Regions from separate parts of the Homo sapiens genome. Here region 2 is linked to region 1. The links are contacts of gene promoters, found by promoter capture Hi-C in human tissues and cell types (Jung and others, 2019). All regions are on one chromosome and are shown on one strand. The core of a region is centred on a gene start or on the middle of the fragment in contact, and the rest is flanking DNA. Distances in the headings are between cores, read along the strand shown. Region 1 overlaps POLA2 (DNA polymerase alpha 2, accessory subunit). Region 2 holds the start of NAALADL1 (N-acetylated alpha-linked acidic dipeptidase like 1).

Evidence for each region. The method cuts DNA at HindIII sites, captures the fragments that hold promoters and counts their contacts. A contact is called where the count stands out against the background at its distance.
Region 2: a contact is called between the fragment with the promoter of NAALADL1 here and a fragment that was not itself captured in region 1, in 6 of the 25 tissues and cell types used here (adrenal gland, dorsolateral prefrontal cortex, hippocampus and 3 more).

Annotation. Positions count from the first base shown.
Region 1 is chr11:65,279,897-65,282,857 of GRCh38, reverse strand. POLA2 (DNA polymerase alpha 2, accessory subunit) reads right to left here. Exons shown (of 18, transcript NM_002689.4): 8 at 1,711-1,866; 9 at 1,126-1,188; 10 at 337-379. Among named protein-coding and RNA genes, the nearest start is that of POLA2, 19 kb to the right of the region's middle. RefSeq lists an enhancer at 2,389-2,961. The HindIII fragment of the contact is 6,666 bases long and covers 1-2,961 here.
Region 2 is chr11:65,057,005-65,059,965 of GRCh38, reverse strand. It overlaps NAALADL1 (N-acetylated alpha-linked acidic dipeptidase like 1), which reads left to right and starts at 1,413. Exons shown (of 18, transcript NM_005468.3): 1 at 1,413-1,629; 2 at 1,716-1,888; 3 at 1,970-2,091; 4 at 2,473-2,595. The coding sequence starts at 1,445. The HindIII fragment of the contact is 22,908 bases long and covers 1-2,961 here.

The sequences.
Region 1 (2,961 bases), core at 1-2,500:
CGCATCTGCCCATGCTGCATGTAAATAAATTCTTTTTGAAATCGTACATCTTTTCCTTTCCAAGGCAACCTTCAAAAATACCTGTTAAACATTAGTCTTTAAACAACATGCTTCATGTAGGCAGAACTCAGGCGACAGCACGACCAACGCTCACTGGGCTCAGACCAGGGGTCTTGTGACAAAAAACCTACGAACTCATGATGGTGGCGCCCTCACTGCTTGGTCACATTGCTCTTCAGCAGCTTCTGCAGCTTTCTTGGGCTTGGGAAACTGCACTCCTGGACTCATGTCTACCATCCTCATTGTTGGCAAAACAATATTTGAACCGAAACTCACCTGCATCCTCTTCAGTGGGCTGATAAAATGGAAGTGGCACACCCTAAAAACAGGGGAAAAGCTCAAGTAAGGTCTTGCGCCAGGCATCACCTTGGTAAGGAAAGGGGAGGGCACCAGGTTGGGGGTGGTGCAGGTGTGTGATGGGAGGACAGTGGGGAGGAGCGAGAGGGCAGGGGAAGGATGTGCCTCTGTCTTGCTCCCTGGATCTGATGGGACCTGCCATTTTTCTATACTGCTCAGAGGGCAAAGAAACCCAGGTAATGGGAGGTCACTACTCAATTGTCATAAAATACCCAGCAACAAGTGGGAGCAAAACAGGTGCCTAAAGTATCAGTGTACTTCTAGGCAAGGATGGGAGAGAATGGTTTCTTGCTACTTTTCCTGGCATTCTACGAAAATCTCTGGAGGATTGTTGCCTAGAGCAGGGATAGGTAACCTTTCGGCCTCTGGGCCAAATTTGGCTGCAGCCCACTATTTAAATAAAGTTTTATGGGAACACAGCCACAGTCATCTGTTTAAGAGTCCTCTATGGCTGCTTTTGTAGACAAAGGCAGAATTGAGTCATTGTGACAGAGACCATATAGCTACAAAGTCTAAAAGAGTTACTGTCTGGCCCTTTATAGAAAGGGTTTGCTGACCCCTGGCCTAGGGGTGGGTTCCCACTTACAGATGGAGAACTGACTAACAAATAAATGGGCTCCTAAAAAGGACCAGTTTCTAGAACAGACAGCTTCCAGACATACTTTGTCTGAAGCAAACCAAGAGGCAAGTGGGGGTACTGCTGTGTACCTCGTAGAGTTTGGTGGCAACAAGTTTCCTACCAGTGGTGTTGATTCCTTCCATAATTACAACCTGAAAGACAAAAACAAACAGGATTGCTAAGCAGTGGAGATCAATGAGGTCTGGAATACATTATTTTGAGGCAGTTAAAAGCATTGTCCAACTACTCTCATTCTGTAATCATAAACTTAGGGCATTTTTGTAGAAAACGAATTAAGGGCGTTGCATTAGTAATAATAATTATGCTCTATATAAGTGATCTAATTTTCACAACAATCCTATGAGGTAAGAATTATTATTTCCATTTTGTGAGTGAAGAAACTGTAGTTTAGATGGTTAAGTACCTTGTGCACAGTCATGCACCTCATGGAGCGGGGAGTTGGGATTTGAGGCTGCGCAGTCAGGTCCCAGAGCCTGGGTCAGAGCATGGGGGAAACAGGAATCCCAACAGTGGTGTCTGCTCTGGGGCATGTGCTCCAGCTGCACCCCATGGCAGCAGAGACAGGAACTGAGGAGCAGCTGCGCATGGCACAGCACCTACACTACAGGGGTAAAGAGTGCGCCTGCATTCTGGTGGAACTCCTCCAATCTCACCTGTCCAGGAAACAGAGAATATTCCTTAAGCTCAGATAAATCCACTGGAATTTGAGCACCCGAGGAATGTTCCCGGTCTCCCTCGAGAATCACTGACTTGTTGTTCAGCTTCCCGTTGCTATCACAGCCAATCTGGCCCAGCAGAGTGACAGGCTCCTACCAAAGGAAGGTCACAGCATAAGAATGACAGTCTTTGGAGCAGGAGCTCAAAATCTGAAGTCGATAGGGTGAATAGCAAAACAAACTGCAAACAACAAATACATTTCTTGGCAGGGCATTGCTTTGACCCTGAGGTGACTACCGCGTCATCACTGACTCTCAGGATGGAAGAACTCTGAAAGGGCATCTTGTCCACCCATCCACCCAGCACTTGAGCCTTCCTAGGAGGCTGCCTAAGTGTGAGCATCTCTAGTGTAGGGGAACTTGCCCCTGGATGCCTACCCCACCCTGTCCTCACCACCCCAGGGCAGCCCACTGCATCTTTGGGCAGCTATAACTACTTAATAATAGCTAACATTTCTTGAGCTTACTAAATACCATGCACTGTTCTAAAATGTATTCTTAGGCATTTTATATGTATTAACTCATTTAATCCTTGCAACAACCATCGGGTGGATATTACTGTATCCATTTTACAGATGAGGAAAACAAGCAACAGAAAGGTTAGATAATTTAGTCAAGGTCAAACTGTGGGTGAAGCTTGGGTTTGAAACCAGAAATTTGGCTCTAGAGCCATATCCTTAGCCACATACCATACAACCTCTTAACAGGAAGTTCTTTATTAATTGAGCTAAAATCTCTGTCTCCATGGCTTCCTCTGTTCTGTTCCCACTCTTGGGAGAAAACAGAGGAAGTCTCATCTTTCCCAGTGATTGTGCCTCCCTGCCTTCCCTCAATTACTTCCTTCCAAGTCCTCTAACACTTCCTTCTATGACACAGTTCTGCATCACTTCCCCAACTGATCATTCTTTGAATGTAAACATTGACAAAGGTACTTTAAAGAAACTTCTAGAATATATTTCCCCTTAGATTAGAAAACATTCTAGAGAGAAAGCACTGGTATATATGCCAGATTAAACTATGATATAAAGATACTATTGGCAGCAGTTTGTCTATAACAAGAGACCAAACCAGGGGAGAGACTGTGAGTCATTGTCCAGAGAACAAGATTCTGAAAACCCCACCGTCGCTGCTGTCCTTTTATCTCGATACGTGAATGCTTCTATTTGTGGGAAATCCCCGGGGAGCTAC
Region 2 (2,961 bases), core at 164-2,663, 220 kb after region 1:
GTGAGGTCTGGAAGAGGCTCAGTATGTGTATGGCATACTTGGGGTCTCACTTCCCTCTCAGCCCTTGCAAATGCTGGAACACCTTTTCAGCCTTGGAGGACCCCCTCAGATGTTCCCTCCTAGTCAGAACTCCTCACTCTTTCACTGGGAGCATGGTGATCCTCCCTCTACAGGGCACTTACCACATGGCTGAACCTAAAGCCTGTCTGCCTCGCCTGCTGGATTTTGCTTCCCCACAGCCTTGCATGGCTCTAGTATAGCACAGAATGAACAGTGCTTGCATGTATAAAGGAAGGAATGAATAAGTGAATGGAGGGATGGGTGGATGGATAAATAGGAGGGTGGATGACGGAGTCCAGGCAGAGCCAGGGGATAGAAGAGGAAGTCACCTCGCCAGGGAGGCATGGGCTTCCCCTGCTGCCTCCTCTGGGACAGCCTCCCTTCCCAGGACTCCCATTCCTCGTATCGCTGGGCTCCCTTCAGGATAGACACAGAGAGTTCTTCTGGGTCCTCCTTCTTCCTTTAGCTCTAGGCCTTACATTTTCCAGAGTCAGATGAGGGATGAGTAGTTAAAATTGATGAGCTCCCACTACATGTCAGACACTGCACTAGCTATTTCTACAGATGCCATATTGTTTAATGAAAATGACACCATAGCCGGCACGGTGGCTCACTCCTGTCATCCCAGCACTTTGGGAGGCTGAGGCGGGTGATCACCTGAGATCAGGAGTTTGAGACCAGCCTGGCCAACATGGTGAAACCCCATCTCTACTAAAAATACAAAAATTAGCTGGACATGGTGGTGCACACCCGTAATCCCAGCTACTCGGGAGGCCGATGCAGGAGAATCACTTGAGCCCGGGAGGTGGAGGTTGCAGTGAGCCGAGATCACACCACTGGACTCCAGCCTGGGTGTCAGTGGAAGACACAGTCTAGAAAAAAAAAAAAGAAAACAGGTGTAGAGAAGCTGAGTGGATTGCCCAAGGTCACACAGCTTACGTCCAGCAAGAAGGGGGATCTCAACTCAAAATCTGCTCAGGCAGGTAGGGCTGGGTATGCTGTAGATCGGCTGCCTTGGAGGGAGGCAGAGGCAGTGAGGGTGGGCAGTGGGCACGGCCCTGCTGTGAACACAGGAGCTCTGAGTTCCAGCCCTGGCTTGGCCTCTGTTTTCCTGGGACACCCTGGATGAGCCCCTTCCCTCTCGGCTTCAGTGTCCCTGGGTGACCTTGCTGCCCTTGGAGAGCCATTCCAGGCAAATGGTGCAGGATGTGGTGGATGTGGATGGCTCCTGGCTCTCACTGCGGGATGTTCCCTCACTCTCCCTGCCAGCTGGGGGTCAAAGGGCAGTGCCACCCATGGGGTAATGTTTAACCAGGCACAACACCCCCTCTATAGGGAATAACCTATAGACCAGTCCTACCCCAGCTGGCCAAGAGTCCGCAGGATGCAGTGGACGAAGGTGTTGGGGCTGGGGCTGGGGGCTGCTGCCCTCTTGGGGCTGGGGATCATCCTCGGCCACTTTGCCATCCCCAAAAAAGCCAACTCACTGGCCCCCCAGGACCTGGACCTGGAGATCCTGGAGACCGTCATGGGGCAGCTGGATGCCCACAGGATCCGGGAGAACCTCAGGTGAGAAGTGGGGCCATCTGCTCCTCCGTTTGCCAGAGGCCCCCTCCCTGATGCTGGCCCTGCCCCTCCCTCTGCCCACCCTGCAGAGAACTCTCCAGGGAGCCACACCTGGCCTCCAGCCCTCGGGATGAGGACCTGGTGCAGCTGCTGCTGCAGCGCTGGAAGGACCCAGAGTCAGGCCTGGACTCGGCCGAGGCCTCCACGTACGAAGTGCTGCTGTCCTTCCCTAGCCAGGAGCAGCCCAACGTCGTGGACATCGGTGAGGTCCTGCCCAGTCTTGGGAATGCCCGGGGGTGGGGAGCTGCTGGGCCCAGCCATGATACTGCCACCCCTCCAACAGTGGGCCCCACTGGGGGCATCATCCACTCCTGCCACCGGACTGAGGAGAACGTGACCGGGGAGCAAGGGGGGCCAGATGTGGTACAACCCTATGCTGCCTATGCTCCTTCTGGAACCCCACAGGTGGGCCCAGAACCCCCCCTACTGCTCTGGCCCAGCTCCCTTGGTTCCACCCAGGGTTCTCCCCACCCTGACCCAGGGAACGTGCCTCAACTGGGGCACAGCGCGCCCTCCGGAATTTACTCACCGGGACACTCCATCGCTGCTCCTTTCCTCCATCAGTCATTCAACAAACACTAGTGGCTCTGCTCAAGGCCAGGTCTGTTACAGGGCACCCAGACATGGAGGAAATGAGGGGTGACTGTTCTTGGGGAGCTTACAAGCTCTGGGTGAGGTGGGGGAACAGAATCTAAATTCTCCCTCCTGCCATGCAAACTTCCACCCCCCTTCCCCACCCACACTTCGCTGGGCCCAGCTCTAAGGATCACCCCCTCTTGGGACTAGGGCCTCCTCGTCTATGCCAACCGGGGCGCGGAAGAAGACTTTAAGGAGCTACAGACTCAGGGCATCAAACTTGAAGGCACCATTGCCCTGACTCGATATGGGGGTGTAGGGCGTGGGGCCAAGGTGAGTGGCAGTCCCCCAGTGCAGGAGGCCTCGGTGAGGAAGGGGCTGGGCAGTGGACTGGAGGAAGTGAGGGGAAGGGGAAGGAGAAGAGGCAGTGTTGAGTGGGGAACCAAGCCCCAGGGTGGGGCAGGAAAGGCAAGGTGTTTTCGGGTTGTCCCACCAATGGGCTGTGTGGCCTCGGATGCCTCCCTGACCCTCTCTGAGCTGTAGGAAATAAAGGGGTTGAGTACAATTTTCAGGTTTGGTATTCCAGAAGTCTAAGTCCTCCTGTGAAATAGTTTTGAATATTCAACTTAAGTCCCTCCTGTTGGCCCTCTCCCTGCCATTTCTTTTCCATCAAAAATTCTGACTAGGGGCCGGGCGCTG